Linked DNA regions of Homo sapiens: region 1 is linked to region 2. The links are contacts of gene promoters, found by promoter capture Hi-C in human tissues and cell types (Jung and others, 2019). All regions are on one chromosome and are shown on one strand. Each heading gives the region's core, a stretch centred on a gene start or on the middle of the fragment in contact. The rest is flanking DNA. Distances are from core to core; before and after follow the strand shown. Region 1 overlaps UBE4B (ubiquitination factor E4B). Region 2 holds the start of CTNNBIP1 (catenin beta interacting protein 1).

Region 1 (5,148 bases), core at 270-2,769, 260 kb before region 2:
GTTTCGTGTTCCATGGCTCTTGCACTGAAATCTGTTTATGAAGAGACATGAGGTGGAAAGTTAAAAGAGTGGAAAAGAGTTGTCCCCAGGCCAGGGAGTGGCAATAGTGCCTCTGCTGATGACAGGAGTCACATAACAGAGAGTCACATAACGAAGGTAAGAGCAAATACAGAAAATCAGGGGAAATATGCAGTAACGTCATATTCCATTGTAAAGTAAACATGTCTCCACATAGGCAAATGGCTACCGAATCTTAGGTCCCCGTCTTGCCTTCCTCACTACCCTTGTCCTGGCCACACCATAAAACTTTTCAACTTTGTGGTGGGGGTGGCTGAAGCAGGGCAGAAATCTTCAGTGATGCTGCTCAGTTTCAATTTTAGAAATAGGAACCAGGTCTTACTAGTTGAGAACAAACATTCTGACTATTTGCAATCCACCATAAACCCTAGTGATGGCCGGCTCCCATTAACCTTTGGCTTCCTGAGTGTAACAAAGGTACAGCTAAGAGAGCCAAAGATTTTACACGGTCTCAATTATTCTACTTAATATCCTTCCATTGTCAACAGCTGTTACCTTATGCTTTTTCTTCTTCTTTTTTTTTTTTTTTTGAGATGGAGTCTCACTCTGTCGCCCAGGCTGGAGTGCAGTGGCACCATCTCGGCTCACTGCCAGCTCTGCCTCCCGGGTTCACGCCATTCTCCTGCCTCAGCCTCCTGAGTAGCTGGGACTACAGGTGCCCACCACCACGCCCAGCTAATTTTTTGTACTTTTAGTAGAGATGGGGTTTCACTGTGTTAGCCAGGATGGTCTCCATCTCCTGACCTCGTGATCTGCCCGCCTTGGGCTCCCAAAGTGCTGGGATTACAGGCGTGAGCCACCGCACCCGGCACCTTATGCTTTTTCTATAAGTAAAATATAGGAATCAATAATGGTAAAAATATGTCATGACATCAACATGAATAATCCAATGTACTGTCTAAGCACAAAGTGCAGTAAGGCATTTGGAAGTGGCTGTAGACTATGTGGTGACATCAGACATCTGCTCTTCAGTCCATCAACAGAGTCTGGTATCAATTAGCATAACTGGGAACAAAATCAGTCACAGAATTTCACTTATTGATGACTGTGATCCTAAAATTTCCAGAACTTCAACAACTGCTAAAGTTATAAGTGAGAGAGTCTGAATGTGGAGTCCAAACCACCAAACAGAGCCCCGGGTTTCTACTCACCGGTCTGAGGAAGGGCTTCTGGACCTGCTTCGTGAGGATGTGGAACATGTCCACGGTTTCGGTGGCCAGGGCGAGGTAAGAGCGGGACACACGCTCATCCTGAGCAAGCTGAGACTGACGAGCCTGCTGCTGATCCTAGGACACATCGAACAGACGCTGAGTAAGGCTCGGTCCTGGTCATCAGCTCAGCAAAGCGCCAAGCACATAACTGGAAAGTGCGTGATAAACCCAACATGCTTAGGGAATGACAGAACCGCCTGCCACATGTCCCAGATAACTGAAGTTTCATCCTTTCAGCATCGGAGCTCTTTGAGACTTCCAGCCAGGTGATGTTGGTGCCTTATTTAACTCTGCTTCCTCAATGATAAAAGAAGTCACCATCTGCCGGGCGTGGTGGCTCACGCGTGTAATCCCAGCACTTTGCGAAGCCAAGGTGGGCGAATCACGAGGTCGAGATCGAGACCACCCTGGCCAACATGGTGAAACCCCGTCGCTACTAAAAATACAAAAATTAGCTGGGGGTGGTGGTGCGTGGCTGTAGTCCCAGCTACTTGGGAGGCTGAGGCAGGAGAACTGCTTGAACCCAGAAGGCTGAGGCTGCAGTGAGCTGAGATCGCGCCACTGTACTCCAGCCTAGTGACAGAGTGAGACTCCGTCTCAAAAAAAAAAAAAAAAAAAAAAGTCACCATCAACTTCTATTCAGGATGAAATAAGATAATGGAACATAGTATCTGACACACATCATGGCACTAAGAAAGGGTAGTTTATTTCCCTTAATAATAACTTTTACTTAGTCATTATTATTATTATTATTATTATTATTATTATTTTTTGAGACGGAGTTTCGCTTGTTGCCCAGGCTGGAGTGCAATGGCGCGATCTCGGCTCACCGGAACCTCCGCCTCCCAGGTTCAAGTGATTCTTCTGCCTCAGCATCCCGAGTAGCTGGGACTACAGGCATGTGTCACCATGCCCGGCTAATTCTGTATTTTTAGTAGAGACGGGGTTTCTCCATGTTGGTCAGGCTGGTCTCGAACTCCTGACGTCAGGTGATCAGCCTGCCTTGGCCTCCCGAAGTGTTGGGATTACAGGCGTAAGCCACCGTGCCCGGCCCTCTATTATTATTGTTATTTTTTTTTGAGATGGAGTCTTCCTCTGTCACCCAGGCTAGAGTGCAGTGGCACAATCTCGGCTCACTGTAACCTCCGCCTCCCAGGTTCAAGTGATTCTCATGTCTCAGCCTCCCAAGTAGCTGGGATTACAGGAGTGGACCACCATGCCCAGCTAATTTTTTTTTTTTGTGTGTGTGTGTGTGTGTGTGTGTGTGTGATTTATTTATTTTTTTTGAGACAGGGTCTCACTCTGTTGCCCAGGCTGGAGTGCAGTGGCGCGATCTTGGCTCACTGCAATCTCTGCCTCCCGGGTTCGAGCCATTCTCCTGCCTCAGCCTCCTGAGTAGCTGGGATTACACGTGCGTGCCACCATGCTTGACTAATTTTTGTATTTTTGGTAAAGATTGGGGTTTCGCCATGTTGGCCAGGCTGGTCTTGAACTCCTGACCTCAGGTGATCCATCCACTTCAACCTCCCAAAGAGCTGGGATTACAGGCGTGAGCCAATGCGCCTGGCCTAATTTTTGTATTTTTAGTAGAGATGGGGTTTCACTATGTTGATCAGGCTGGTCTCAAACTCCTGACCTCAACTGATCTGCCCACCTAGGCCTCCCAAAGTGCTGGGATTACAAGTGTAAGCCACCGTGCTCAGCCAGTCTTCATTATTTTAAAACTATGAGATGCAGTGTGCCACCGTATTGAGGCCTATCGGGTCTGCCTCTCTGCCTCTACAAGTGCCTGTGGACTACTAAGCTTTTAAAATTTTGTCTTTCCAAACTGTGAGGCTGTCACACCACAGAACTGTCAGCACGCTTACCTCTGGCGCACTTTCCTCCTTCAACTCTGCCATGGGCTGGGGAGGAGATAATAAGAGCTGTTTGACTCATGGATACAATCAGGTACTGCACTGCAGGCTCTGAAATGGGTCAAACACAGACCCATCAGGAAAAGCCTCAATTCTTACATCTGTTCAGAGGCCTTTTCTTGTTGGGAAAGGAACACAGCTGGCAGAGCTGAAGCTGGCCGGTGAGTGCCCTCTGGGAAAGTGCTCCAGTCTGTGCTTGATGGAGATTCTGCAGGGATACTGGGGGGCCTGCCGTTCCCTGGTCAAGAATGAGCCTACTGAAAGAAAGGCAGAGCCAGGAAAGACACAAGAACAGCCAGGCGTGAACTACCTAAATGTGTACCTGGGTGTCTCAACAGGCCCTTCTACAGCCTTTGGGCACTGGAGATAGAATAAAAAGGCTCCCAGCTCTCATGCAGCTTAGATTCCGTTAGGGAGGATCTGCTTCATAGAAACAAATACCCAGACAGACACACAGTAAGTCTGACAGTGATGAGGAAAAATGAAGCAGGGTCAGGAGTCAGGGAATGCTATTCTGGAAAGGGTGGTCAGGGAAGGTATCCCTGAGGGAGGGTATATCTGAAGGAGTCGGAAAATCTGAGGGAAGAGCATTCCAGGTAGGGGGAAGAGCAGGTGTAAAGGCCCTCACGTGTCAGTGGAAGGGCCAGGAGGTGAGTCTGGCTGGGGTAGAGTGAGTGGAGAAGAGACTGTCCAAAGCTGAGAGCAGAAACACATTGTGGGGCCAGGTCCTCCTGCGTGCTGTAGGCTGCTCTCACCACAGGATTTGGCTCTGAGTGATAAGGGAAGCCCAAAATGGCTGAGCTGAGTGGTGATGTTGATCAGACTGAGATGTTTAACACCATCCCTGATATGGACATGCTCAAGAGTGGAGGTTGAAGACCAAGCAGTGGGCTACTGCAATAACCCAGGTAAGAGATGCCAACGGTCTGGAGGTGCTGAGAAGAGGTCAGATAATGGATATATTTTAAGACAGAGCTTAGAGGCATTTGCTGAGAGACGCAGAGAAATCAAGAGCAACTCCAAAGCATCGAGCCTGAGCAGCTGGTAGAATGAAGGCGCCATTTACTGAGATTGGGCAGACTCAGGCAGGAGATGTGGACAACATCAAGGGTTCCGTTTTGGACACAGTGAGTTTGAGACACTGATTAGACAAATACTTGGTCTGCAAGTCTGCAGTCAGATCTGAGCCAGGGAGATATATTCTGGAGTCTTTAGAACACAGGTATTTAATGCCTTGGTATACCTGAGCTCACCAAGCAGTGATGTTCACCGGGGGACATCAGGTTATGTGTGGCAGTGTTTCTCGTTGCCTGAAGGCTGGGGGTAGGAGGGTACATCCCTGACATTAAATGGCAGGAAACAGAGATCCTAAATGTCCTGCAATATATGGGATGGTTTCTCATCATGAGTTATTATTATACCAAATTCCACTAGGCTCAAAATTCCAACTAGTGCCCTCGTTGAGAAACACTAACCTAGAGAGCATGAGTGGGAAAGAAATTGAAGCCTAAGGGCTGAGTGCTGGAGCTCACCAAGCTCAGACGTCAGGGAGATGAGCAGGAACAGCCAGGGCAGTGGGAGGTAGAAAGTGACTTCAAAGCCAAATAAAAATTATTTCTGAAATAGCAATTGTGGGAATTATTTGGGCCTTTTTCATCCATTAACACAGGAAAAATCAATATTATTTGTTCAGTTGGCTCATAAACAAATGCTATTAAGTACTGACTATGAATACGAGAATGTGCTATAGACCTGCATTCCAACATCTAAAATATACGCTGGCCAGCCATGGTGGCTCACAACTATAATCCCAGCATTTTGGGAGGCTGAGGTGGGAGGACTGCTTGAGGCCAGGAGGTTGTAGGCTGTAGTGAGCTAAGATCTGTCATTGCACTCCAGCCTGGGTGACAGAGCAAGACTCTTTCTTTCTTTTTTTTTTTCTT
Region 2 (5,333 bases), core at 2,138-4,637:
AGAGAACAGTTTTTTGGCTGGGCACGGTGGCTCACGCCTATAATCCCAGCACTTTGGGAGGCTGAGACCGGGTGGATCACTTGAGATCAGGAGTTTGACACCAGCCTGGCCAATATGGTGAAACCCTGTCTCTACTAAAAATACAAAAATTAGCTGGGCGTGGTGGCGCATGCCTGTAATCCCAGCTACTAGGAAGGCTGAGGCAGGAGAATCACTTGAACACAGGAGGCGGAGGCTGCAGTGAGCCAAGATCACACCACTGCAGTCTAGCCTGGGCGACAATGAGACTTCATCTCAAAAAAAAGAAAGAAAAAAAAGAGAAAAAAAATAGTGTTTTTTTTCTTTTTTTGCTCCAGAAAGCAACTATTTAAAGATACATAATAGGCCAGCATGGTGGCTCACAGCTGTAGTCCCAGCACTTTGGGAGGCTGAGGCCAACAGATCACTTGAGGTCAGGAGTTCGAGACCAGCCTGGCCAACATGGTGAAGCCCCGTCTCTACTAAAAATACAAAAAATTAGCTGGGCATGGTGGCGGGTGCCTGTAATCCCAGCTACTCAGGAGGCTGAGCAGGAGAATCACTTGAATCCAGGAGGTGGAGGTTTCAGTGAGCCAAGATTGCACCACTGTGCTCCAGCCTGGGCAACAGACTGAGACCCCATCTCAAAAAAAAGAAAAAAAAGATACCTAATATATGTTCTGGGACCACACGGAGGCCCTCTCCAGAGCTGAAAGGAGAAAATATCGAACCATAAATGCAGTGAGAGAAGAGTAAGGAGGAGAAGGCTGATAGCCCTGGGGGTCGGAGGCGGGGAGTAGGAGTGGCTGGCCGGCCGATGGAAGGGAAAGTCCTGGATGGAGTATTTACACATTCAGTTTGTTCCTGCAGTAATATTTGTGGATACAGGTATTGTGCTTGGTGGCATGGTCCTTGCCCTCCTGGAGTTTATAGCCATGCTGTGGGACTAGGGCTAGCATCCATTAAGAGGTCTCCCGGAAGTAGACCAAGTATTCAGGCAGGTGAAGTGGGGAGAAATCGGAAAAGAGCCATTGAGGCCAAGGGAACAGCGCAATCAGAAGACCTGAAGCACAAAAGAGCTCCCTGTGATCAAGGAACAGGCACAAGGCCCATATGTGGCTAGAGCCCAGTTGGCAAAAGTGGTTCAAGATCAGGCTGTAGCCAGATCCTGTAAGGCCTTGTTGCCACACTAAGGACTTTGAACTTCCTCGTGAAAATGAAGAGAAGTCGTTGAATAGCGCAGGTCTGACAAGATTTTAAGAAGTTTCCTTTAGTTGCTGTGTGGGCAGTGAATGGGGGCGTAAGGAGAGCCTAAAGGAGAGACTGCTTGAAGGGTTATTGCAGGAGTCAAGGTGATAGCTGGTGGCAGGTTAAACTGGGAAAGAGGGGTAGAGATGGTAGGAGGTGGAGAGATTAAGGACACCATTTAGAATTGGAAACAACATGGACTGGAAATGAAGAATAAAGGAAAGAGTGGTGTCAACGGTACAATTTAAGTGTCTGGTGTAAGCAACTGGGTAGAGAGTGGTGCCAGTTACTGAAGGTGGGGACACTGTAGGAGAAACCCACTTGGGGACCAATTTTTTTTTTTTTTTTTTTTTCAGACAGAGTTTCGCTCTTGTTGCCCAGGCTGGAGTGCAATGGCGCAATCTCGGCTCACTGCACCCTCGCCTCCCGGGTTCAAGCGATTTTCCTGCCTCAGTCTCCTGAGTAGCTGGGATTACAGGCATGCGCCACCACGCCCGGCTAATTTTTGTATTTTTAGTAGAGACGGGGTTTCTTCATGTTGGTCAGGCTGGTCTCCAACTCCCGACCTCAGGTGATCTGTCTGCCTTGGCCTCCCAAAGTGCTGAGATTACAGGCATGAGCCACTGCGCCCGGCCGGGGACCTATTAAGTATGAAAAAGTGTGAGCAGGCCGGGTGCGGTGTCTCAGGCCTGTAATCCTAGCATTTTGGGAGGCCGAGGCGGGCAGACCACTTGGGGTCAGAAGTTGGAGACCAGCCTGGCCAACATAGAGAAAACCCGTCTCTACTAAAAATACAAAAATTAGCCGGGGCGCATGCCGGTAATCCCATCTACTCAGGAGGCTGAGGCAGGAGAATCGCTTGAACCCGGGAAGCGGAGGTTGCGGTGAGCCAAGATCGCGCCACTGCACCTGAGCCTGGGCGACAGAGCGAGACTCCCTCTCAAAAACAAAAAAACCCCCCAAATGAGTAAAGAGTAATGTGGATATTATATTATAAACGAACAAACAAAAAAGGACTTCGTATTCTTTTTGCATAGGGAAGGGGAAGAAATGTGGAGTGGAAGAGGATGGTACAGAAAAGGTGTAAAAAGAAAGGCTGTGGGAGGAGTAGGGTAGGAGGGCTTCTGAACTGGGGTTAGTGTCACACTGTGTAACTGATAATTTAAACTGCTGAAAATGAGACCACACTTAAAGATACAGGTCCCTTTAAAAGGAAGGCGGATGTTAAAAGCAATTTGCATTTTACCTAAAATGGGCTGCTTCTCCCTGTACCCTCTCCAAATACAGCCAGACTTTCTGTAGAAACATTTTAATCATGGGCACCCTTCCCCCGAAAAATCCACTCACTACCAGTACACACGACCTTCTGAGTTTAATGGACCTACGGAGGCCCATCCCTGGGCTCTCTGGGCTAGGTTAATCCCAGGTTAGGCCCCAAGCTCAGAGGTAGCAACGTTCCCAGCTCAACGACGCAGGAAGACCACGCCTCTAAATGTTCTGCAACCTCGTCCATTTCAGAATTTTCCGGGGTTCTGGGTAAACTGGCCTCACCAAGGATTCTGCCCCGTCTTGTTGCTCCCGTTTTTAAACACAGACCGGTGTGTGGGAGAGGCCATTATTTTTCCGGAACACTGTGCTCCTGGAGCAGATAGGGACACGCAGAGTGGCTTTACCGCAGCGCCAGCTTCAGCCTTACCCGGCTCCTCCTCCAGGCCACCGCCTCCTCCTCGCGCCCAACCCGCCTTCCCTGCTCACCCCCGGCCCGCTCCTCCCCTTTGCTCTCAGCGCGGACTCGGCCACTCACTACCGGCGCCGTGTTCCACCCGCCCACCGCATGGCCCCGTCCCTATGTCGCTGGTCTCGCCCCCTTCCAGGAGGGCCCAATGAGCGTTCACATGCGCCACAAGGCCCCGCCCCGCACCGCGCAGCCCCGCCCACAGGCTGAGTTAACCAATTCGCGGCCCCGGGCCCCGCCCCGCCCGCAGGCCCCGCCCCGGCGCCCGGCCCCACGCGCCCGCCTCCCTCCGGGGCGTTGCCGCCGCCGCGCCTCAGCAGCCCGCGCGGAGCCAGATGCCGCCCCCTCCGCCGGTCCCTCCCCCGGCGGCCTGGCGCCTCCCTCCCTCCCCACCGCGGTGACTCTCGGAGCGGGAGGCGGAGGCTGAGGCGGCCGCTCCTGCTGCTGCTACTGCCGCCGCCGCAGCGGCTGCTCGGGCTGAGCACGCCCCGGAACAGGCCGCCGCGCGCTGCGCGCCGGACCCGCTGCCCCTGCCGGCCCGGCCGGGTCGGGCGGCCCAGGTAAGCGCCGAGGCCGGGCCGCGCCTGCACCGCCCGGGCCCGCGCCGCGCCGCGCCGGGGCTTGGGGGAGCGGCCAGCCCTTTGTCTGCCGGGGAGGGGCCGCGGAGAGCGCCCCCGACCCCGCTCGGACCCCTGACTGCCCCAGCGGCGCGGCGCCCTGGTCTGGGCCTGGCCGCCTCTCGCCGCAGACCACCTCCCGCCTCCCTGACTCTTCGCCCGGGGGTCGCCTCCACAGGTGTCCGCGCCGCCCACCTTGTTGCTCACCTCACCGCGTCCGGGTGCCTGTCATCGCCCGTCCGCCCTCCCGACCTCTGGGCCCCTGCCTCTTCCCTCACCTGCGCCCACTCTGAGACTCTTACTCTCCATATTTCCCCAAACTAAACGCTGGGCCGCCCTTCCTCCCTCTGTAGTTTGATTGAACTGTCGTCTCCCGATTCCACCCCTCCCCGGTGAGCCTTCCTGGAAGGTACCTGGTGGGGGCACATATCTCACCTGGATGGCGGGCGTGTATGCACGAACCTGCAAAATTAACCACCTGGAGCCCCAAACTGCACCTCTCACCTCCTTTTCATCACCCCACCCCAACCACCTTCCTTTTTTTGGAACCTGGTAACCGAGACACTCAGGTCTGGACACCCAGCCTCTGCTAGGCCCTCCATCCCTCCCTCTGCCTTGTGAGCTGAACTTGTCTGAGCAGTGCCTGTTGTCAGGTTAGCCCCTGGGAAGGCGGCGGGGGCCGTGTTGGCCGCAAATCAAGAGTTTTATGAATAATGAGACGTGTGGCTTGCACCACCTCCTGTCTGAGGATCTCAGTATGCTCCAGCTGTGAATTATTTTGTCTCCTGTCACTCACAGAACTGAGAGGAACATGTCTGGCCAACTGCTGGGTAAATTGAGGTACAGGGTGTGTGGGTAAGGGACCTGGAGGCAAGTCATGGTTTGTCTTGAAGTTCTGTTCGCAGGAGCCTTGGCTCTTAGCTCCCTGCTACAACCACTGGGCTCCAGTTCCTGGAGTGTGTCCCCAAGTGATAACTGATCTCTTGTGCCATTAAAATGTCCAGAGATACCAGCAGCTTCCTCAGATTTAAAGTAGGACTTTGGATCATAAATAAAGGTGCGGGCTGTTAAATGCCAATGTGTCATTCACGGTTTGCTGGGGGAGTTCGTGGTCCTCCCTTGTAAATACAAATCACCTCTATGGGATGGAGATTCATTCATTCAGTAGTGAGCATTTACTATGTGCCAGGCACCGTTCCAAGTACTGGGGCTTTAGTGGTGAAGACAGACACGGTTTCTGCCCTCCTCAGAGATGACATTTTAAAGAGGAGGAAAGTCAGACAATAAGTGAGTAAACAAACAAGTGGACAAAATAATTTCAGTAGTGGTAAGTGCTATGAAGATGGAGAGGGGCCAGATTACATATAAGAATCTGTGGCCGGGCGCGGTGGCTCACGCTTGTAGTCCCAGCACTTTGGGAGGCCGAGGCGGGCGGATCACGAGGTTAGGAGATCGAGACCACGGTGAAACCCCATATCTACTACAAATACAAAAAATTAGCTGGGCGTGGTGGTGGGCACCTGTAGTCCCAGCTACTCGGAGAGGCTGAGGCAGGAGAATGGCGTGAACCCGGGAGGTGGAACTTGCAGTGAGCCGAGGTCACGCCACTGCACTCCAGTCTGGGCGACAGAGCGAGACTCCGTCTCAAAAAAAAAAAAAAAAAAAAAGAATCTGTGGATCAGGGCGGACTCAGTGGTTCATGCCTGTAATCCCAG

Evidence for each region. The method cuts DNA at HindIII sites, captures the fragments that hold promoters and counts their contacts. A contact is called where the count stands out against the background at its distance.
Region 1: a contact is called between a fragment that was not itself captured here and the fragment with the promoter of CTNNBIP1 in region 2, in 1 of the 25 tissues and cell types used here (aorta).

The regions. Positions count from the first base shown.
Region 1 is chr1:10,164,352-10,169,499 of GRCh38, reverse strand. It overlaps UBE4B (ubiquitination factor E4B), which reads right to left. Exons shown (of 28, transcript NM_001105562.3): 24 at 1,230-1,364. Among named protein-coding and RNA genes, the nearest start is that of KIF1B, 44 kb to the left of the region's middle. The HindIII fragment of the contact is 8,579 bases long and covers 1-5,148 here.
Region 2 is chr1:9,908,323-9,913,655 of GRCh38, reverse strand. It overlaps CTNNBIP1 (catenin beta interacting protein 1), which reads left to right and starts at 3,387. Exons shown (of 6, transcript NM_020248.3): 1 at 3,387-3,561. RefSeq lists enhancers at 1,446-2,118, 2,119-2,792 and silencers at 2,940-3,539, 3,550-3,609, 3,780-3,839. The HindIII fragment of the contact is 11,728 bases long and covers 1-5,333 here.